Regions from separate parts of the Homo sapiens genome. Here all the other regions are linked to region 3. The links are contacts of gene promoters, found by promoter capture Hi-C in blood cells and fetal thymus (Javierre and others, 2016). All regions are on one chromosome and are shown on one strand. Each heading gives the region's core, a stretch centred on a gene start or on the middle of the fragment in contact. The rest is flanking DNA. Distances are from core to core; before and after follow the strand shown.

Evidence for each region. Contacts are between HindIII fragments. The CHiCAGO score rates a contact against its expected background, and 5 or more counts as called.
Region 1: a contact is called between a fragment that was not itself captured here and the fragment with the promoter of SZT2-AS1 in region 3, in 1 of 17 cell types (M0 macrophages). The highest score is 6.4, in M0 macrophages.
Region 2: a fragment that was not itself captured here is called in contact with the fragment with the promoter of SZT2-AS1 in region 3 in 1 of 17 cell types (M2 macrophages); the score reaches 5.0 in M2 macrophages.
Region 4: a fragment that was not itself captured here is called in contact with the fragment with the promoter of SZT2-AS1 in region 3 in 1 of 17 cell types (M1 macrophages); the score reaches 5.1 in M1 macrophages.

Annotation. Positions count from the first base shown.
Region 1 is chr1:43,214,062-43,219,327 of GRCh38, reverse strand. It overlaps CFAP57 (cilia and flagella associated protein 57), which reads right to left. Exons shown (of 23, transcript NM_001378189.1): 12 at 3,912-4,073. It overlaps LOC105378685 (a long non-coding RNA gene), which reads left to right. Exons shown (of 5, transcript XR_007066041.1): 2 at 3,935-4,062. Among named protein-coding and RNA genes, the nearest start is that of CFAP57, 44 kb to the right of the region's middle. The HindIII fragment of the contact is 1,017 bases long and covers 3,089-4,105 here.
Region 2 is chr1:43,663,477-43,669,322 of GRCh38, reverse strand. KDM4A (lysine demethylase 4A) reads right to left here. Exons shown (of 22, transcript NM_014663.3): 6 at 3,578-3,627; 7 at 2,768-2,871; 8 at 2,232-2,369; 9 at 1,304-1,551; 10 at 24-223. LOC124904165 (a long non-coding RNA gene) reads left to right here and starts at 1,491. Exons shown (of 3, transcript XR_007066050.1): 1 at 1,491-1,579; 2 at 2,211-2,465; 3 at 4,332-5,693. RefSeq lists enhancers at 1,812-3,011, 4,653-4,712, 5,003-5,082. The HindIII fragment of the contact is 3,212 bases long and covers 2,669-5,846 here.
Region 3 is chr1:43,444,481-43,450,436 of GRCh38, reverse strand. SZT2-AS1 (SZT2 antisense RNA 1) reads left to right here and starts at 1,793. Exons shown (of 2, transcript NR_046744.1): 1 at 1,793-2,334; 2 at 2,505-2,661. It overlaps SZT2 (SZT2 subunit of KICSTOR complex), which reads right to left. Exons shown (of 72, transcript NM_001365999.1): 63 at 4,453-4,543; 64 at 4,178-4,258; 65 at 4,021-4,095; 66 at 3,269-3,482; 67 at 2,739-2,892; 68 at 2,466-2,588; 69 at 1,953-2,358; 70 at 1,709-1,825; 71 at 266-334; 72 at 1-100. It overlaps MIR6735 (microRNA 6735), which reads right to left and starts at 1,898; the gene lies at 1,826-1,898. The HindIII fragment of the contact is 12,682 bases long and covers 1-5,956 here.
Region 4 is chr1:43,240,518-43,246,410 of GRCh38, reverse strand. It overlaps CFAP57 (cilia and flagella associated protein 57), which reads right to left. Exons shown (of 23, transcript NM_001378189.1): 22 at 3,052-3,184. The region is part of intron 1 of LOC105378685 (a long non-coding RNA gene); the gene reads left to right. The region is part of intron 1 of LOC124904164 (a long non-coding RNA gene); the gene reads left to right. Among named protein-coding and RNA genes, the nearest start is that of TMEM125, 27 kb to the left of the region's middle. The HindIII fragment of the contact is 1,700 bases long and covers 2,692-4,391 here.

The DNA.
Region 1 (5,266 bases), core at 2,348-4,847, 230 kb after region 3:
TATTTAAACCTGCGGCCTTGACCTGAGACCTGCAGCTCTGCCTAGCTTCAAACTCAATGTGTCTCAACTAGAACTTGTCATCTTTTCCCCAGAAGGCACATCAGCTAAAAATGAGGAGACATATGAGCTTCCTCCTCTATCCTCAAAAAATCTTTACTACATTGTGCTAGTCATGCGCTCATCTCATTCAAGTCGGCTTAAGCATCTCCTGCTTGACGAGGCTGACTTGCACCACACTGTTTAATTCTGCAACCCCTTCCCATTCCCAGGACCCATCACCTCTCTTACTCTGCTCTACTTCTTATTTCCTTAGATCTTGCACTTTCTACAATTTACTTATTATTTTGTTTATTGTTTTTATTCTTCTTTCCCCATCAGAACTTAAGCTCCACATAGACCAGAATCTTTGTAGGGTTTGTTTGCTGATATATCCCAAGTACGGGAACAATGTCTAACACAGAGTAAGATCTCAGAAGATATTTATTGAAGCATGATGGCTGTCCCCATGTAACTTAGAGTCTACTGAGGCAGCCAGACAAACACATTATTACAAATTGTGGTAAGTGCCCAAAGCTGGGTGGTTCTCAGTACTGCCAATCTGTCCCTCTTGATGTCTTCTTAGACTCACTTTTAATACTTTAATATAGGTCCTAACTCTTCTGTCTTGCTGGTTTTTATGCCTAGTATCTTCTTATTCTTCCTTTTTTTCTCTTTTTTTTTGAGACATGGTTTCACTCTGTCACCCAGGCTGGAGTGCGGTGGTGTGATCATGGCTCACTGTAGCCTTGACCTCCTGGGCTCAAGTGATCCTCCCACCTCAGCCTGCCAAGTAGCTGGGACTACAGGCATGCCCCACCACACCTGGCTAATTTTTATATTTTATATTTTTTGTAGAGATGGGGATCTCACTATGTTGCCCAGGCTGGTCTCGAACTCTTGGGCTCAAGCAGTCCTCCTGCCTCAGCCTCCCAAAGTACTGGGATTACAGACTGAGCCACCGCACCCGGCCTAGTGTCTTCTCCCATCGTACTCAATGATGCCAAAGTTTTCTAAAAATACTATAATACACACACCCTTCATTTCCTTAAAAAGTTAATGTTGATGACAGAGTGGGTCAGAATGCAGTGTTTTCTTCTTGCTTACCTATGGGGACACCCCGTGCATCCCTATCTCATCATTTCTGGTCTGTCTCCTCTACCACCTGTGAACGACTTGACATCAAGGAATGGATTACGCACATTTCTGCATTCCTGGCCAGCAGACTAGTGAGGATCTGGTGCACAGGAAGTACTGAGAAGAAGGATAAGCACAAATTGCACGTGCAAAGTCAGAGAGGATGGAGCAGGAATGCCTGGCCAGGGCACTCACTGCATGTGATATGGCACAGGTTGGATGTATAGGAAGGGGCAGCCAAGACTGCGTCAGACCATCAGGGGCCCGGTAGACCATGCTAGGAAGTTTGGATTTTATCTTAGAGGGCTTCCAAAGGTCCTCATCGAACCCGATCAGGCTGACTTTGGTGTTATAAAGATCTCTCCAATGGCGGTACGCAGCACGGACTAGATTAAGGAAGGACCAAAGGCAGGATGATGAGTTGCTGGGGTGGGTGGGCGGCAACTGCATAGACCAGGCGAGAGACAGACAGGGTTTGGACTGAGGTAGGGAAGGGGACCAGAGAGGAATGGAGAGGTTGGAGAGAGTGAGTTTAGAGAGGATAGTGCCTGACTGGGTGTGGGGTGGAGAGGTAAGGATCATGGATGAAGGCTGTCTCCTAGGTAGAAGGACCGGTACCTGAGGGTGGGGCTTGGCCTGTCTTGCTTCTCTGCTTTATCCCCAGAACCTAGCATAAAACTAGCAGCATGGTCAGCACTGAATGAATACTTATCAATGATCCCAGGGGTCTGCCCTGGCTAGTGGGATATATTTATCCATGGGAATGACCCGGCCTTTGACATGCTGTGTTTGAGGTCCTTGTTCAGTGTCCTTCCTCCATCTATTCTTCACATTGCTGCAGATTATTCTCTCCGAGATGCGAATCATGTTAAGTCATTCCCCAGCTTAAATTTATGAATGGTCCTTATGAACAATGTCCAGCCTAATGCAGGGTGTAAAAGGCCCCCCTGACCTGTTTCTCTCCAGCTTCATCTTCAGCCCTTCTCTCTGGCACAACCTAACTAGGAGCAGCTTTGCAGACCACCACTCCCTCATCCCTCTGCACACACTCACTGCTCATTGCTCACTGGCCCTTGTCCATTTGTCCTGGAAGGATCTGAGCAAGGCTCATGTCCTCTGGCACCACCTGGCCTGAGCCAAGTTCCTTCCCCTGTGCTCCCACAGCATCGTTCTTTCATGACACTTCATTCCACTGCACGTTTAATTCCCTTCTTTGTGATACTCTGCCCTCTTCCCAGGCTATCAGCTAAAGGATGCTTTATGTCTTTTATCTCTGTAATCCCAGACCTTAGTATAGTGTCAGGTACACAGCAGACCCCTCTGTAAATCCTAGGCAGAGAAGGTAAATCATGGCCTGAGAGTTACTTAGACTATAATGGAATATAAAGAGAGTTGGGAATTCTGGGAACATGCTTTTTAAGGGACAGGCGGAGGAAGAGCCAGGACAGAAGCGGGGAGGAGGAGTCAGAAAGGTTTTCAGGGAACAGAGTGTGGTCACAAGGATGGTAAGACAGAAGGGAGTTTCAAGAAGGAGCGGTATATGCACAAGTCATTTCCAGCCTGGCAGCGGTACTGTCAGGCCCATCTGGGGGCTGTGGTCAGAAGCCAGCTTGGGCACCTTCAGGCCTTTGGTTCAGCCTGCTGTCTCCTATTTGGCCTCTTCCCCTACCCTCTGGGAAGAACAGAAAAGATAACAGAGAAAAGGAAATGTCCCTTCTGCAGCAGGTCAGGCCCCCACTCTCACGGGCCCCTCCCTCATCCTCTTCTCCCTCTTTGCTTTTCCTGCAGAAAATTCTAGGGAGCTCTGGAAGGGATCTCCAGCGAATGCCAGGGGCTTGTCACCGTGCTTTGTGGCAGTGTTGTATTGCTGCTCTGATGGCTTTACTTGTTTCTATCCCTCACTTGACTGTAAGCTTCCTGGTCATGTCACAGGGCCCACAACTGTCTTTTCACATGTGCATCCCCAGTGCCTAGCAAATGGTAGGTGTTCAATAAACACACTTAAGATTCTGGACAAACAGCAATGACTGTGTAGCTTTGCGATCCTCCATGAGCCTTGTGTGTTTATCATCCATTCAGCTTCTCCCTTAGGAAGCGTAACACAGAGCTATGCACTCATATCTCTGCAAAACACACCTTTATGGAATGTTTACTGCATCAACAGGAAGGAAGGGATGTCCCTTTGGTATAGTGATTAAGGGAGGGGGCTCTGGATTAAATCTGGATTAGAACTCTAGTCCTATTAATTATTAGCACACTGACTTTGAACACATCCCTCAAGCTCTCCTAACTTGTTTTTTGAAACATGGGGAGAATGACAGTATCTTCTTCATAGAGATGTTGTGAGATTTAAATGAGAACATACTTTACTTTTGTAAATATTTATTGATTGTCTTCCATGTGCCCAGCATGTGCTAGGAACTGTTGGTCATAAGAGAACTGTATGTTTCATTATTCTTGGTTTCAAAGAGTAGGAAGAGAAAACCAGATCACAGAATAAAAGCAAAGCACAGTGTAAGTCAAGATGATCACATGGCAGAAAGACAGGCAGAGTCGGGTGGACAGTGGCAATGAGGAGGAGAGCTTGGTTGTGGGGACAGCAGATGTGCAGGGAGCCGTGGGGGTCTGCACTGGGCATAGGGTGTAGCCAGGCTGTAGAGGGCCCCAGTGCTGGACCTGCATCTGAATGCAGTCTGGTAAGTAATTCCATATCCCTCTTCATTAGATCCAGTTCTTACCTTTTCTTCCATGTCTGTTTTAGTCACAAGCACCTCTTCGGCAAAGCCCACCTCCCTCTCTCGCTTGATTCCCCGGCCATCCTTATCAAAGACCTTCCAGGTGAACAGGCAGCCATCCTCAGCAGCAGTCAGCAGGAACTGATCATCAAAGGTAAGCAACATCTGAAGAGAAAAAGGGTCATGGCCAGGAAGCTTTCAAGGCCACAGATGACCAGGGCTGAGCCAGCTGTTGCGCAAGGCTTCCCCCCATGCAATCCTGGGCACAGCCTCACAGGGAGGTAAACTTGATCCCAGGTAAGAATGAGAGAGGAGCCCTCACAGGCATCTGTTAATGAATAGAAGAAGTAAGGTTACGTCTACATTCTCTGTGGATTTGGAATCTGAAGAGTCAGCTATTATCTAGAACGAACAAGAAACTCTCAAAACTCAACAGTAAAAAAGCCAAACAATCCAATCAGAAAGTAGACAAAAGATAAGGAGACATTTCACCAGGGAAAATACACAGATGGCAAGTAAGCACATGAAGAGATACTCCGCATTATTAGCCATTTAGGAAAATGCAAAATTAGGACCATGATGAGATATCACTACACACCCATTAGAACAGCTAAAATAAAAAACAGTGACAACACCAAGTGCTGGCAATGATGCAGAGAAACTGGGTCTCATACATTCTTGGTAAGAATGTAAAATGGTACAGCCACTCTGGAAAATAGCTTGGCAGTTTAAAAAAAAACAAACCTGAATATACACTTACCATATGATTCAGCAATTATACTCCTGGGCATTTATCCCAGAGAAATGAAAACTTATTTCCACACAAAAGCCTGTATATGATTGGTCACAGCAGCTTTATTTATAATAGCTGAAAACTGGAAAAAATTAAAAATATCCTACAATAGGTGAATGGCTATACAAACTGTGATTTGTTTTTCATGGAATACTACTCAGAAATAAAAGGGAATAAACTATGATTGATACACAACACAACTTGGATGGATTTGAAGATTTAGCTGAGTGGAAAAAGCCACAATCAGGACATTAAGCTAAAAAGCTTCTGCACAGCAAAGGAAACAATCAACAGACTGAAGAGACGACCTGTCGAATGGGAGAAAATATTTGCAAACTATTGCTCTGACAAAAGACCAATATCCAGAATACCAAAGAACTCAAACAATTCAACATTAAACAAACAAAAAAATCTAAAAATCTCATTAAAAAGTGGGCTAAGGGGCGGGCGTGGTGGCTTACACCTGTAATCCCAGCACATTGGGAGGCTGAGGAGGGTGGATCACCTGAGGTCAGGAGTTTGAGACCGGCCTGGACAACATGGTGAAACCTCATCCGTACTAAAA
Region 2 (5,846 bases), core at 3,025-5,524, 220 kb before region 3:
AAAATACACCATAGTCAACTAACCTGGGAAGGTAAGACCATCCTCAACTTGCCGCACAGAGCTATGGGTGGGCCTCACAGGGGCGAGGGCTGCCGGGCACTCCGTCATCTCATACTGCTCAGAACTCAGATCCTCCTTGGGGAAGAGCTCACTCTGACTCACCTCCTGTGGTATTTCAAGACAAACTCGGTGCCTCTTTGTCCCTATTCGGTGCTTGGCCAGGCTGCAAGGGAGAGGGCAAATCTTTTAAGAGCCCACATATACATCCACTTACTCAAACACATTCATACACATCCACACACAACCCAAAGTGAATGGCCAGAGCCTGTCAGGCCTGGCTCAAAACTCAGGGACACCTCTTATTTGTGACTTGAGACAAGGGACTTCACCTCTCTGACCTTGTTCAATCATCTGGAAAATACAGGTATTACCACCCACCTAACAGATTTGTTGTGAGGATTAAGAAAAGGTATGCAGAGTAGCTGGCAAAGTGCCTGGCATATAGCAGGTACCAAGGAACGGTTCCTCCTTTCTTTCCCATATGGCCCAGGATAAATTCTCCTCAGAGCACAGATCCCCTGGCTCAGCCACCAATAGCACTGCAGACTTAAATCACGACATTACCAATGCCCTTGAGTCTCATCCTCACTACACTTCTTTTTAAAAGACTCTCTGATATGATGAGAAAACATGACTTTTCTGGCTCAGAGGGAGCCCGACCTTCGCACATAAATGCCCCCGACCCTCATATAACTGACGCCTTGCTCCAGCAGACTACACGCCCACTACAGGTCTCTCATTCAGAAAGTGCCTGAATGCTCTGGCTCTCAGGTTTCTGGAGCCTTTACCAAGAACACTCCCTTAGCCAAGGCACAAACGGCATCTTAGAAACAGCCTCGGCCGGGCGCGGTGGCTCACACCTGTAATCCCAGCACTTTGGGAGGCCGAGGTGGGCGGATCACGAGGTCAGGAGATCGAGACCGTCCTGGCTAACACAGTGAAACCCTGTCTCTACTAAAAATACAAAAAATTAGCCAGGCGTGGCTGTAGGTGCCTGTAGTCCCAGCTACTCGGGAGGCTGAGGCAGAAGAATGGCCTGAACCCGGGAGGCGGGGCTTGCAGTGAGCCGAGATCGCACCACTGCACTCCAGCCTGGGCGACAGAGCGAGACTCCATCAAAAACAAAAACAAAAACAAAAACAAAACAAAACAAAAAAAACAAGAAACAGCCTCTCCACAGATTACAGGACCTACCCAGACATCCCTCCCTCACGCAGCCAGGACAAAAGGGCTGCTGGGTTACCTTGTCTTCAGGTCTCCTTCCTCTCCATCCTCCACCCCTTCCATGTCCTCCTCTGGGCACTCCTCCTCGTTGCCAGCTCTTGGAGGCAGTTCACTCTCCTTAAGAAACTCAGCTGCTTCTGGCGTGGGCAGAGTATGGTCAATAACTGTGTTGTCCTTCCCAGCTTTCCAAAGTTTGTACCTTTCTGGCTGGAACTTTCTCACAAACACATCCATGGAGATCTTCACCATGTCCTTTCTACAGGAGCACTGTCAGCAGGAACCAGAAGAGCACCAGGTGAGCATACCTTGCTGCTTCCAACTCACCCCCACGTCCTAGCTCCTCCCTCCACATGGAAACAAGTGCAAGATGGTTTATAACCAGATTGTTTTGGTTCACAGGCTGAGGGCATGTTATCCTTGCAGGACCTTCAAACATGAAGGGAAGCAGGGAAAAAAAGGCAGAGAGCACATGCTACTGGGGCAAATCTACCTGGGCACTAACTCGGGGTCACAGAGGGTGGTTAGGCTCTGCACTTAGGCCCCCAGGACGGTGAGCCACCTGCCCTTGTTCCCTGTCCAAGCCAGGAACACACAAGCAAGTCTACTACTATCAGTCAAAGGCCCGACCCTGCTGCTTCCCTAGAGTAAAGGAAACCCCTAAAAATTTCAACAGAGAAATCTCGGAATGGATAAACAAGAGTATTAACGTGTGTGGATGTGGTTTTAATGCCTAATGGACTTAAGAACCTCATTTTATACTTCCCAATTCTGAACACATTTTTAAAAATTCCTTATGAACACAAAATGTTAGTACTCTGACACATTGCTAGCTGCTTGTTTCTGAATTCCAGCAGCTCAAAGAAATACTCTAATCACCAGCCAACGTATCTAACCAGAATTTGCTCATTTTTGTCATGGTGTTATAGAAAGAAATCAAGCAGACTTACCAGCACAGCTTGCTTGCCGTACTCAATCCACCGACGGGTAGCAAAATTGGTAGACTCCGCACAGTTAAAACCATGGTTAAAGCCGGCATGGTAACCATAAGGGAAAGTGATCATAAACTCTCCAGCCTCTTGAGTCACCTGAACAAGAGCAGACTTGAAGCAGCTGCTTCAAATGGCAGAAGTCCACAGAACTGGAATTCTGAGCTCCACCACAACTTAGCTGAGTAACAAAGGGTAAGTCATAAAACCCCTGGGGTCCTTGCTGTCTTCTATAAAATGCAAAGCCCAGACATATCAGATGACATGACTATAATTAACCATTCCTCCAAATGAACACTGTTCTAGGGGATCTGACTCTCCTCTGGCACCAGGAAGCTACAGTGGCCCCACCTTTAATGCTCTTAGATCAAAGTGTTGTTACATAGTTTATTTAAGCTTTGGCCCCCTCTTGGTATAGTGATGAACTAGAATAAAACTGTAAAACAAAGGCCAGAAAGGGTGGTGCCTGAGAACTTTGGCATGTAACATCAGCTCACCTTGTCAAAGGGAATTCCATATTTCTTCAGCATTAACGGGGAAATCAGGGTCATCTTGTGGCGGAGAAATGCCTCACAGCTTTGAGCACTTCCTGGGAAAAAGCCTATTTAATTGAAAGGGTACAGGTTAACACAGTGCTCCACACTAGCTCCGCAATCCTGGAGTCACTTCACACCTGTGCTTCTCATCGGAATGATAAAGAGGATGCATCACCAATGTGACCTCTGAGGATCCTTATAGCTCCGCACCAATTCTAAGATTCTGCAATGAGCCTCTAGGCTCACTCCCATGTAGGGCATTACGTGGGTAATGAAATCCTGTTTGGGAAACCAAGGTCACCCAAGCTGCCTCTGTTCTTATAGAGCTTTGAAACTATTTAGGACCTTTTCTCCAGTCACTTGTATCCCTGATCTTTTTTCAGTAATGCAGCTGTAGTATCATCTACCCAGGCTTTCCTATGTTCTCCAGACATACAAATCTAAGTCCACTTAAAAGAAACAAAGCATAAAGTTCAATTTTTTCTTTAACATTTGGGTCTTTAGTGGAAACACCAGTCATACTGGGTCTGGTTCATTATCGCTGGTCAAAGAAACACCCCTGCTCATTAAAACTGAGGCACAGACAGTCAGGACAAAGGAAGAAAAGGCTCCGTCACTGCCCTCTTAAGGTAACCAGTGTGGCTCACCCCCGTCTGCAGGCCTGCAACAGGACCTGCAAGTATCTGACCATGGGGAACGCACATTTTAGTGCAGAGCAAGGAGCACAGCTCATAGGAGGGTCCAATCCAGCAAACAGAAGAGACACAGTACCTTTGGCGAGGCGTTCCAACCGCTTTCCATGCTCAGGTGGAACAGAGTACCTGCAATCACATGAGAGCATCAGAGGCTGGGTGGAGGGCAGGTACAGAAGCTAAGGGACTTATTCCCACTCTCAAAACACCTTGAAATAGCAGATTTTTTTTTTAACTTCCCAAGCAGTAGAAAGGAATCTGAAAAAATGAAATATTAGACTGTTTGGGCACAGGAGTAAGGAGCCCATAAAGAAGGTGAGTGAATTTATTTCTTCTATATTCATTCACTTAATAAGATGTTTATTAAGTGTTCACCATGAGCCAGGATTTACGGTACATAATATTACTCTCCTTTATAATGTTGTTCATATAATAACATTTTTTAAAAGAAAAAAAAAGAAGGATGTCACTATATAACCTCAGTATTTAAAAATGCTCAGTATTTTTAAATGCTTGAAAGGCCTAACTGGGGGCAGGCAAGAGGAAGATGGAAAACAAAGTGAAAGATGGATCTGACACTTAAGAGACCTAGCCCCGTATCTGCTGATGAACCCACTTTCCCTTTATCTCCCCAACAGCTACATATACTGATTACCCAACAATCAATTACCTCTCTACCCAGTAGGGTGTCTAAACACCATAGAAACTGCTCTTCCTAAAAAATGAAAAGTAAAAAAGAACACCTAGGACTATTAAACTTTTGCAAAATTGTTAAACTTTATATTCTGAAACTCACAGTAACTCTGTTTTAACCTTTTTAATCTCTTCTGAAGATTATTCCACAGTAACAACAAATCCTCCCACTGCAAACAGCTTCATTATAAAACAAAACAGAGAAGAAGAGTTGACAAAAATGTCACCTAAAGGACTCTGGGATCCATCAGGCAACCCTATACAGAAGGCTCTGGAGGTCCCACTTCAGAGGACCTAAGAATGTATATAATAACTGGAAAACCTTCTTTTATAAGAGAATTCAAAAATCCAGGAGCAGTGAATTTTGGAGTAAACAATGGTGAAGACACAAAAGCTACATTTACACATCCTACAAGTCTAGCCTTCTGAGGAAGGAAAAACAGGACAGTAGTTAGGAGATAATCATAGGCTCAAAAGGTTCTTTCCCCCAAGATTAGAAACTGGAGAGCACTTGAAAGAAGAAAGGAAAACCCCTGAGAAAGAACATGGCTGAAGATGCTGAAAAAAGACCTGAAAGTGGATATGGTTTTCATGACTCCCCATAATGTGCCCCATGATGTCCCCTCCGGCCTCATCACTCACTTCTCATCGTTTTACACAGCACCCAAACTACAGCAGACTCCCCCTAGCTCCCTAAACACACCACGCCTGGCTAATTTTGTGTTTTTAGTAGAGACGGGTTTCACCATGTTGGCCAGGCTGGTCTCCAACTCCTGACTTCAGGTGATCCACCCACCTCGGCTTCCCAAAGTGCTGGGATTACAGGTGTGAGCCACCACGCCTGGCCCTCATGTGCTGTCTTAATCCAGGAGCTCTGCGTCTGTGGTTCCAACTGCCTGGATACACTTCCCTCAATCTCCCAGCTGCTAAGCCCACCACCACTCCACCCGGTTATGTCCTTCTCATGTTTTAGGTCTCACTTGTCACCTCTTTGAAAGAAGCCTTCTTTAATCCCATCTATCCTTCTTATGTGGACCTTAGCACCCACTTCTTCCCCTTCAGAGCTGTCCCCACACCGTATGAGCATTCTCTCACACTTTCTACCTCCTGACCAGTCTCCTATCTGTGTGAGGGTAGGTATCTCATCCATCTTATTCACTGCTGTTATCTGCAGCACCTTCACTAAAATGCTGAGATGGGCCGGGTACAGTGGCTCATGCCTGTAATCCTAGCACTTTGCAAGGCTGAAGTAGGAGGACTGCTTGAGCCCAGGAGTTTGAGACCAGCCTGTGCAACATAGTGAGACCCCATCTCTACCCTAAAAAAAAAGAAGGAAAAAAATTAGCTGGGCATAGTGGTGCACGCCTGTAAACCCAGCTACCTGGGAGGCTGAAGTAGAAGGATCACTTGAGCCCAGGAGGTCAAGGCTGCAGTGAGCCATAATGGTGCCACTGCACTCCAGCCTGGGTGACAGAGTGAGACCCTGTCTCAAAATAGAAAAAAAAAAATGCTGAGACTCAAAGATGGGTCAGCACAGAGAGAGGAGAGAGAACCAATGTTTGTCTCACCAACAAGAATAACACTCTGGAGAACAGGAAGCATGCTGAATAGCCTCGCAATCCCTTATGTGTTAAGCACACACTGCTGCTCCCCAA
Region 3 (5,956 bases), core at 544-3,043:
CAGACTCCAGGTGGTGGTAGGTGGAGACCAGTTGGGCAGGGGGGCTCTCGCTGTCCTGGGGCTGTACTGGGAAGGGCTCTCGGAAAACCACTGTCAGAGACTGTGGGGAACACGGTGGGGATGCACTGGTGAGAGGAGGGCATGGGTGGGGATAGGAGGCAGGGCTCAGAAAGGGTGGGCACCCCAACCTCAGCAGGCTCCGAGGTGGAGCATTTGGGGTACGGCCTCCCATGAGGCTGACACAAAGCCCCCCACTCGTTCTTACCGTCTTTCCTAAGTGGGAGTCCAGAAACACTAGCACAAAGCAGTCAGTGAACTTCTGATTCAGCACAACCTGCAGTGAAAGATGAGGAGGGGACACAGACCCTACAGACCCTCCCACAGGGCATCCTGAGGTGAAGGGAGGATGAGGAGAGGCCTACTTCCATCTCCACACCTCACCCCGCCTGCACCCTGAGGTCACATAGGACCGTGTCTCCAAATTGAGCCTCAGTCCTCATCCTCGCTGGCTTGCTGGTCAGCCTGTCTGAGCTGCATCAGAATGAGGGGTAACAGTTGATCCTGGAGGCCCCACACAGAGCCTGGCACACTGAAGCCAATCAACAGAGAGTGCTGTACCCCTGGCACAACCTCCTTGCCTCCTGTCCTGGGACTCCTCTCTGACCACCCCTGGGATTGTCTTGTCGTCCCCTTATGTCCATCTGCTCCCTAACGCTCTGCTTGGTGATCCATCCCGGGATGATTTGCTCTCCCAAGGCTTCAGTTACCGCCTGTTCACAGAGCTGCTGCCTAGGACTCTCCTGAGCTCGAATCCCTGATGCCCACAGACCTTGCAGACAGTGAAGGGCCTATGGACCCCAGACTCAGCTTGCCCCAAGCTGGGCTTGTCACCCTTCCCCAAAACCCACTCCTGCTCCAGCCTTCCCACCACCCGCAGGAGCACCTGCCTCCATTCACAACCGCCGACACTACTGCAGCCTCATCCTAACTGACCTTGGCTTCTCTGGGAGACCCTTCCTGCACCCTGAAATGAATCCTCTGCACAAGCACTGTGCTGCAGGACCCCTCACCTGGCTCCACCTCCTACTTTCTCACTTGAAGTCTTCTCTTGTAATGCCTCCTCTCTTGAACCTCAGCTCTGGCTGGGCCCATCTCTGTGGGCTCCTTAATGCCCTGTGCTCGTGTCCACCACCACAGTTCTCTCTACCTGTCCTTTACAGCAGTGCTTTCACGCCTCAGTGTGCACACAAATCACCTGGGGAGACTGTCAACCTGCAGATCCCGAGTCAACAGTCTGAAATGTGGCCGGAGAGCCTGCATTTCAGCAAGCTCCCAGGTGCTGCGGCTGCTGGTCTGTGGACCACACTTTAAGTAACAAGGCTTCAAAGTCCAAGGGGTCCTTTCTGGGGCTCCAGCCTACTGACAAAGTTCTGACAGCTCCTTGGGTTGTCAGTTCCAGAGCCTGGCCCTCAGGATCTCAAGCCAAGGCTTGTATTCTTGGTGAGTCTTTGAGGGCAGAGCTGCTCAGAGAATCACATGCTGTAGCTCGATGCCCGGTACTGGAAGGGTTTTACATGTATCTGTGTAGTCCCGTTCTGTCTAGGCCTCCCTCCAGAGCAGAGCTTGTTTGGTCAGGCTGAGGGGCACATCTGTTTGGTGAGGATTTCTGCTGTGTTTCCCTTTTCAGAGGAAGCTCAAGGGGACTTACCAGGTACTGAGTTCCCAAGTCTGGGCTTTGGAAATGGCGACAGCTCTGGGGGAAGCGGCTTAGGAGAACTTTGATCAGGCTCTGGTACCAGGAGACCGTCATGGATAGGAAGCAGTCCTGAGGGAGGAGCCACAGGCCTGAGTCTTCTGTGCCAGTCACCTCAGATTCCTGTGCCCTCTGCCCTGGCTGCCAGTGGAATTCCTGGCACCTATCCCAGCTCTTTCGGGAGCCCACAGTTCCTTACCAGCTGGGGGTCGATGTCCCCAATGGATTTGGCATGGACTGCTTCTAGGAGTTCCTCCAGCTCTGCCAGGGCCAGGCGCCCCCCTAGCCGCAGTCGATCAGGCCCCGGTGGCTCCAGCAAGAAGAGGCGCTTCCAAAGGGTGTCCCGACGGCAGTGCCCTCCAGCCAGCCGCACCAGCTGAGCCAGCCGTGCTCGTGCCATGCCCACCTCTGCAGCCAGTGGTGGGAACAGAGGAGCCGGTCCAGGCGCTAGAATAAGCCCTGAGGCCTCCCCAGGGCTGCCAGCTGAACTCCCAGGAGCCTCTGGCTCAGGGGGCAGTCTGGGTGGCTTCCGGAAGCGGCGCATGTCAGCAGTGAGCCTGGGGAAGAGCTCTCGCTGGCTGGTGAGCACCACGAAGAACTGTAGCCTGGGGTGGGGAGCAGGGCAGGAGAGTGGTGGTTGTAGCAAGAGACACACAGGGCAGGGTGGGGCAGGCTGGGAAATGGGCATGTTCAAGGTAGGGGATCTGCTGACCGCAGAACGTGCCGCTCAGCCTCTCCTTGCTCCTCAAAGGGTGCAGCACAGTGACAGACAAGCAGAGACACATCAAAGTCATCCTGGTGTCGAAGTCCCTCAGAGTCCAGGTAGGAGCCAGAACTGTGCAGGACGGGTTGGGGAGATGTCAACTCTGGGGTTCTAATAAAACAAACCTCACCCCTGCCCAAGAAAACATTGGTCTCCCTACTGCAAGTATGTCCCAACCCCAGCTCCTGCAGCGTGCATGCTGGATGCCCCTCTCAGCCTTACCTGTGCCATGCCGACACCAGGGCATACTCGTTGTGTTCTGGGCCCCCTGGCCGGGCCATTCGCAATGGCTTCATGTGGTAAGAGCTGGCGTGATCAGCCACGTAGTTGTATAGCTGGTGGGCAGCAATGAGTGGTGTGGGGAGCTCCAATGTCCCTGAGGGATAAGTAACAGGAGACAGCAGACACTAAGCCTAGGACAGACACACTGGTCTGGTGGGGCACAGGGATGGGAGTCTTTAAGGCTCTGACTGGCAGGCAGAGTGGGTCTGCTTTCCTTAGGAGCTCCTGCATTCCTGTGGAACACTGAGATGGGACAGAAGTGACTCAGAGGGCAGGGGACATGTGACATGGGGTCCAAACTCTGGTAAGAAACAGACACAGGACAGAAACATGGGGACGTGGTATGTGTGACATGAGATGATTAACAACATGGGACCACTTGTCCAGGGAGGTGGTCCCACCAGCCCTGACCTGGAGGCACCTGTGGCCTGTTCTTTTTTGGGTTCACTGGCTTGCCCTTGGGCACTGACCTTGGTAAATGTGATTGCGGCCAAAGTGGGGTCCGTCAGGGTGGTGGGCCAGGAAGTGTCGCAGAAAGGTGGTGAGGTGGTAGCCGTGCCGCAGCACCAGATGGGCACCTAGCACGTGCTGATGCACGAGGCGCAGATGGAAGTCATAGCTGAACGAGTGCACGTGCATCAGGTCCCGCACCTTGTCACACTCCTCTGTGAACAGCATGGACAGCTGGGGAGGCAGCAGCAGGAGACAGGGTTAAGGTATGGCTGCACTGGCTGCCCAAAACACATTTCCCTCCTTCCGTGGGAAGAAGCACAAGATTTCCCCTGCTGCTGTGGCCTAGTGGAACGCCCTCTGCCAGAATGGTTTCTGTGGGAAGGCCTCCCCATTCTAGCCTCCCTTTTTCATACTGTATTGTAACTATCTCCATGAAACTAGGGCCATTTTCAGAAACTGGGCCATTTTGCTCTATCCCAGATTCCATCAGGGTCTGCCACAGACTCTAGATGACTACAGGCCAGACCAGGCACTGTGCTGCCTCAGGGCTACAGCTGAACACGCTTTGGATGACCGATGGGGTCAGCCTTGTAGTGAGTGCAGTCATGGCACCAGAATGAGCACTGACCTAGCCAGGCCATAGCAGTGAATCAATCACTGGGCCAGCCCGCCTACTGCATTACTCTACTGCCCAGCAAATGGGACATGGAGCCATGCTGCCCACAGCACACTGGGGTGCACTGACTGTGCCCGCAGCTCATTCACATACCTGTGAGTTGACAGCCTGCCCCATTGGGATTCGGGAACATTCCAGGGCAAACTGTTTGACACAGAAGTAACAGCCCTGGAGGGAAGGTGAAGATGAGATCAGGAAGGCGAGAGACAGGTGGGTCTGGCTGTCTCCACTCAGTGCTCCTCCTGCTTACCTGGAATGCCAGTTCCATGAGGATGATGCCCCCAGGCAGTGCCCGCTGCAGGTGGTAGGTGGTTACCGGAGAGCTAGTGCTCTGAAGAAACAAAAAAGGGGGCAAGGTTTGGGGGCTCACCAGCCTCGAATCAGTAGGGTGGAAGTCCCTTGGACCCTGACTTTAATGGTGTCAGTCTGGGATCAGTGACCTCGGTACATCACTCAGGGTCAATGACCTCAGGCCGTGGGAAAGTAATTTAGCATCAGTAACTTTACCATTATATGACAAGTTACCTTGGGGCTCCCATCAGTCTTGGTTTTAGGGCAGGAGAAGGAGCCTCGACCCTCTGTTCCAAGGATAGCCATGGCCCGTGGCCGGCTGGTGCTATAGAAAAGGAGGAGGGATAAGAGGATGAGGCAGGCTAGTGGCATGCAGTCATGGTGATCAGACCCAGAATCTGTTTTATATGGAATCATTTTGCAAGGGAGGAAACAGACCCACAAAGCTGCCACTGTGAGTGGCAAGGCTGGGCTTGGAGTCCAGGTCTAGACTGCAAGGCTGGGCTCTCTCCATAGCAGCTGCTGCTTCAAGGGAGGCAAAAACAGTGCTCAGTGGGGAGGTGGAGACTAAGCCTCTGCTACTGAGAGGGTGTGTGCTGGGCAGGAAAGAGAAGGGGGAAGGTGATGCCTGTCTACAATTTGATTAGGAAAATTCAAGGAGATGCTTGATGCCTGGTTAGGTACCTTCCTCTGAAAGGGCAAAGCTGCTGTCTTTTGATTGGGGGGGATGGCAGTTCCAGGCTTTCAGAGGCCTACTGCTCGTTACAGTTTAGTGCAGAGGATAGGGGAGAAGGGAAGCAGGGGAGGGACTGGGAAGAAGGGACAGAACAGAAGGGGTTGGGGGGACCCACTCACGCCAAGGGGCTATAAACTGCCAGAATTCTTGCTGGGGGTCAAAACCTCTGGTGGAAAAAATGTCCCATTTAAACCTCAAGGAAACTGGGACAAGACTTAGTGATTGGTGATTGTTAAAGATTGGTGGGAAGGGAAGACCTGGCTTTAAATTTTGCTGTAGAAACATTTTTTTTTTTAACCCAGTGTCTAAAGGAATTCAGATTTGGGGGAAAGAGCATAACTTATGGCAAGTGTGCAAACTAAAGTCCTTTAGAGAAGCTCCTAGAGCTGGGAACTGGCTGTCAAGATAGCAAGCTGGGCAGCTCCTCCCCAGGGTAGGAGGGGCCAGCCTGGCCTCTGAGATGGGATCACAGGAGGGGCAGGCACGCCTTCTCTTCCTAATGCCTGGAAGAGAGGGAAACCTGGGGAGTGGGGAGCTGGTCACAGAAACATGAGAGAGTTGGAACTGGCATTTCTGGACTACTGGCTTGAAAAGGTTCTAACTGAAAACAGAGAGGAGGGAGAACATGCCTTGATAAACTCACAAATCTGGAGACACGAAAGTAGCTATGTGTAAGGTGAACAGCTCATTTTTCGCATACAGCCACTGGGAAAGGGCAGAGAACACAGAATCTGGAGAGGAACATAGAGCAGGGGCCACAAACACGGGAATCTGAGATTTGACAGTGGATGAAAAGGTGGCTGCAGAGTTGTCCCTGAGCTCAGGGGAGATGGAGGTGGCAACAGACGGGCTGCCTACTTCCCAAGACTCAGACCTGTCAGTACTGGCCAGTGGGTGAACATGACCAAGAACAGGCCAAGGACAGTGATGCAAGTAGGCCTAGCACAGAGGTCCTTGGTGAGAAAAGGACTTCCCTGGGCCGAGAACTACATCAAATCTCAG
Region 4 (5,893 bases), core at 2,292-4,791, 210 kb after region 3:
CTTGGTACCCTTGTTGACAATCACTTGACCATTTATTTGAGGGTTTATATCTGGCCTCTATATTCTATTTCATTGGTCTGTATGTCTGTTTTTACGCCAGTATCACACTGTTTTGATTGCTATAGCTTTGTTGCAGGTTGTGAAATCAGAAAGTATGAGACCTCCAACCTTGTTCTTCTTTTTCAAGATTGTTTTGGCTATTCAGGGTACCTTGATATTCCATATGAATTTTGGAATGGATTTTTCTGTTTCTGCAAAAATGTCATTGAGGTTTTTATAGGGATTGCAGTGAATCTGCAGATCACTTTGGGTAGTACTGACATCTTAACGACAAGTCTTCCAATCCACCACTTACTGGTATTTAATTTCTTTCAGCAATGTTTTGTAGTGTTCAGTCTTTTGCTTCTTCAGTTAAATTTATTCCCAAGTATTTTATTCTTTTTGATGCAATTGTAAATGCAATTGTTTTCTTAATTTCCGTTTTGGATAGTACATTGTTAGTATATAAAAATTGCAACATTTTTGTGTGCATTGATTTTGTATCCTGTAATTGTGATTTTTGATCCTTTGTATAAAAATTTTCCTTAACTCCTTTGGAAGTCTGGAGGAGTTCTTTCCTCATACTCTGGTGTTCTGAAATTTCAAGATGATGGACTTGATGTGGGTCTGTTTTTAGCCACTGTGTTGGATAGTAGGTGGATCTAACAGCTTCTTAAACAGATTTTTTTCTGTTTTCAGCCCTACCTTCACTTCCACCTCCAGAGATATCTGCTTCTGATCATTCCTGAGCCTTTTGAGGGTTTTGTGGCATACATTGGATTTCTTCTAGGTTCACCACTCTGGCTTCTGGGTCGGGGTGGGGGTATGTTGATGAATCACAAGTGACAGGAGTTGATATTTGTTGGAAGTAGGGGACTGGGGTCCCAGGAATTGATTAGACTTCTCTCTCAATTTTTGTATATGTCTGGAAATCTCCAAGATAGTAATATGAAGACCCTGGCTATATCACATGGCATCCTGAGGAGGTCTCAAATGAATATTTGTTAGGATACTTGGACATATTTAAAACTTTTTTTTTTTTTTTGAGACAGGGTCTTGCTCTGTCACCTAGACTGGAGTGTAGTGGCGTGATCATGGCTCACAGCAGCCTTGAACCTCTGAGGTTCAGGTGATCAATTTTACTCTAAAATCCTCACACCTCAACCTCCCGAATAGCTGGGACTACAGGCATATGCCATCATGCCCGGCTGATTTTTGTATTTTTTGTAGAGATGTGGTTTCGCCATGTTGCCCAGGCTAGTCTTGAACCCTGGGCACAAGCGTTCCGCTCGCCTTGGCCTCCCAAAGTGCTGGGATTACAGATGTGAGCCACGGCGCCTGGCCTGAAACATTTTTTAAGAGAAGTTTTGCAATTGTTCACATCTGTGCTTTATTTTCAAGAGAAGATGGTTTCACCTCTGAGAAGTCAAGCATGTCAGGTTTTTTTGTTTTTTTGTTTTTTGTTTTTTGAGATGGAGTCTCACTCTGTTGTCCAGGCTGGAGTGCGGTAGTGCAATCTGAGCTCACTGCAACCTCTGCCTCCCAGGTTCAAGTGATTCTCCTGCCTCAGCCTCCCGAGTAGCTGGGACTACAGGCCCGCGCCACCACGCCCAGCTAATTTTTGTATTTTTAGTAGAGACGGGGTTTCACAGTGTTGGCCAGGATGGTCTCGATCTCTTGACCTTGTGATCTGCCTGCCTCGGCCTCCCAAAGTGCTGGGATTACAGATGTGAGCCACCGCACCTGGCCCCAAGTATCTCAGTCTTTATGACACACGCTATGCTCTCACATCAACCCTGTAGGCCTGGTATTGCCACTTCAGGTACTACTCAGGGTTTACTCTTGTTTCAACTTCAACCCTAGCCAAAAGTGCACAAGACAACAAAATTATATACATATACATAAAATCTTATATATGTATTTAATTTTGTAATTAAATGTATATAGTTATATAGTTGAAGACTAACAATAAGTTGCAAAAATAGTACAAGGTTCCTGTGTACCTTTCAGCCACTTTTCCCCATCATAAGCTTATGTGACCATGGGACAAGAGACAACTGACACTTCAGAGACCCAATCCATAGCTATGGGATGTTTCAGTTCAAGCCTCTAATCTTTATTCCTTAATGTAAACCACCAGAAAACAAAAACTTGAACCATGTTGGCTTAATTTGCCATAGAGATGCCTTAATCTCTTGGTTTTTATCGATTGTCCAGATAAGGAGTGGATACTTGAAAAATGCTTCTTTGGGGCCTGAAAGCGGCATATGTAATTAAAGGCTGTTCATTGTTACTCCACATTCCTTTTGTAAGGATCCATGTGGTAAGTTTCTCAGAGAATTTATTGCCAGGGAAACGTTTGTTTCTCCAGAAAAAAAGCTCCCTTTTGCCATACAATGAGCATGATATAAACGATCATATTTCTTTGTTTCTCTTTTTGCCTTGGCCGTCAGAAATTCAGAGGAACTTTAGGATATAATTGCAGTAACTGACTCATTTAATATTTATGTAATTATTTCCCCTCTTCCTTTAAATAGCTCCTCATCTTGCTTTTTGTCTTCATTTTAATTGTACAGGTTCACAATCCCTTATTCACTATTCTAAAATGCAAGAAGATCTAAAAACAGAGTGCTTTTTTAAATTCAGGAAGCTTAGTGTGAATATTCATATGTCACTACAGAAATACTAAAGTGTTTGATTTTAGGGCACTGCCCCAGACCCCTCTGGGAATGTTATATAAAGTATTCGCTTTCTAAAATCTAAAAGAGTCTGCATTCTGAACGGTAGCTAACCTCAAGGATGTCAGCCAGGGGACTGTGGACCTGTGTGTGTCGGAGTGTGGGAAGGCCCTCATGGATTCCTCAAAGAGCAGGTGTGTGCCCCGGACAGGATCCCAGAAGGCCATGTGTAGATGGGACCTGATACAGAAGGAAGCCAAAGGGAGACCTGCCTGCAGCTGCCATCAATCCCTTCGTCCCAGTGCCCATCTCCCCTGGCCACTGGTGATATTACCTGTCTCTGAAACTTCTTGTGGTCGGACTTTCTTGGTCAGTTTCAGAGCTGCTTCAAGGTCATAGACTTGGGACCGAGTGAACTTCAGCTCCCTGCGGAGCTCATTAATTTCCTTGATCAGAGAGACATTTTCCTGCAGAAAAGGGGGAAGAGAGAGGGAGGGTGGATGGATGAGTGGTCAGTGGGCACAAGGCATACCCTCCTGGGCTGAGTGTATGGGGAATGGGCAGGGTTAGGTCTGGATCCAGAACTCTGGATCCTCTATTGGGGCCTGAGCCTTTATTCCAGCCTATTGCTCAGCCTCTTAAGGAACCAGCTAACTTACTTTCGGGTAGACTCAGCACCATTCACATCCACCCATGCTTGTTGCAACGTCAACAGCAACAACAATGCTTTTCCATGCACTTTTTATATGAGTTTAAATGCATCATAATAACCCTATGGCTATTATTATATCACAATTATTGGCTATTATATGGCTATTATATTATATATATATAATTATATGGCTATTATAATCACAAAAACAATTATAAATTGTTATTATAATCACAATTTTACAGAAGAGAAAAGTGAGGCACAGAGAGGTATATGACTTGCTCAGTTACACAGCTAGCAAGTGGTAGAGTCAGGATTCCAACCCCAACAGTCTGGCTCCAGAGTTCGTAAGCACTGTGCTATACTTCATTCATTTTTCATTCATTTGCTGAACCCACATTTATAGGCTATCTGGTAAGTCCATAAAGTGCAAACAGAAATAGGATATGGTCTGCCCTTAGCAGCATGCTATTTAGTGAGTAAAACAGAAAAGTAAATGGATAATTAACATCTGCTGCATCCATTGGAAGCTCACTTCTCTTATTTGTGTTTGACAAATATCCATCCATCCATCCATCCATCCATCCAACCAACCATTCATCTAATAAATGTTTATTGAGTACCTATAATGTAGTCATCCAATATTATGGAGATACTATGTTAATCCTAGAGTATAGAGAGTGTAAATCTTAGCTTCTGCTCTTGAGGAGTTTACAGTTTAGTGCGGGGTGTGGGTACAGTTTAACATGGTGGCCACCTTGCTGTGATGGAGGAGTGGGCCTAGAGGAAAGATGCTTCCTTCTGCCTGAATGACTAGGGTGGATTCCTAGGAATTGACCCCTGGGCTGAGGCTTGAAGGAGTCACCAAGGAGAGGGTAAAGGGTGTCCCAGACAACTAGAACAGCAGAAGCAAAGGCACAGAATGTGACACAGCTGATGGGGGTGGGGGAGACCTGCAACAGTCCTGCATCACTGGAATGCAGAGTGAAAGGAGGGGAGTCGACAGGAGTGAGGACGAAGCTTGCTGGGGGCCAGGTGGTGCAGGCTCTGCACCCTGGGACCAAACAGTCTCTTTCCTCTTTTCCCACACCTCAAATCTCTGCCTTCCATTTCACACCCAGCACAAGTACCCCAAGGAGGAGCCCCATCCCCAAGGGCCCAAAGAGACTGGCCACTTTGCTCTTAGAGCCCACAGCCACAGTAGTCAGCTTGTCTACAGCAGTTCCTCGTGTATGACCATACAAATACATCACCTGACCACCTTGTTAGATGCCCCTCTGACTCATAGGTCTGGAATGGGCCCTGAAATCCTGCACTGGGCTTCCAAGAGATGCTGCTGCTGGTCTGCAGGCCAGACCACACTTTCAGTTGCAAAGCACCTGAGGGTCTGTATACCAGAAAAGGCAGTTGCAGGCCAAATCTACATAAAATGGACCTGTGCCAGGAACAAACTGTGCTTCTACTTGGGACATTATCTCACGAGTGGTGGCTACGGAGTCAGAGCCCAGAGAACAGGATGGTCTTAAGCACTGTTCTCCCTGAGCTGTGACAAACGGTCCTCTGCTGTGGGGAGGTACCTGTGGAACCCAGAAGGGAGCAGGGGTCGGGCTAGAGACACCGCAATGATTCTTTTCCTCCAGAAATGCTTCATCTAAAGCACAGATCTACACCTTTAGACTTCCAGTATATTACTTAATTTCAGTATTCCTTACAATATAGTTTGGATGTTTGTCTCCTCGAAATCTCCTGTTGAAAACTGATCCCCAGTGTTGGAGGTGGGGCCTAGAGGGAGGTATTTGGGTCATGGGAGCAGATTCCTCATGAAGGGCTTGGTGCCATCCTCGCAGTAATGAGTGCTTGTTCTATTCGTTCCTGCAAGAACTAGTTGTTTTAAAAGAACCTGGCCTCGGCTGGGCACGGTGGCTCACACCTGTAATCCCAGCACTTTGGGAGGCCGAGGCAGGTGGATCATGAGGTCAGGAGATCAAGACCATCCTGGCTAACATGGTGAAACCCCGTCTACGCTAAAAATACAAACAGTTAGCCGGGCGTGGTGGCGGGTGCCTGTACTCCCAGCTACTTGGGAGGCTGAGGCAGGAGAATGGCATGAACCCAGGAGGCGGAGCTTGCAGTGAGCCGAGATCGTGCCACTGCACTCCAGCCTGGGCGACAGAGCGAGACCGGCCCCTTCTCCTCTCCTACTCTCTCTTTCGCCATGTGACACGCCTGCTCCTCTTTTGCCTTCCATCATGAGTGAAAGCTTCCTGAGGTCTTGACCAGAAGCAATGCTGGTGCCATGCTTCCTGTACAGCCCTCAGAACTGTGAGCCAAATAAACCTCTCTTCTTTATAAATTACCCAGCCTCAGGTATTCCTTTATAGTAATGAAATCTCTCTGTCTCGGATGAAATGCCCAGTCCTCATTGTCAACCCCTCATTCTTCATGCTAGGATTTGTACTTGTGTTTCTGAATCAGATGTTTTCTCCATCGAATGCTTTACCCTTTGAACCAACCCAGGCCTTGC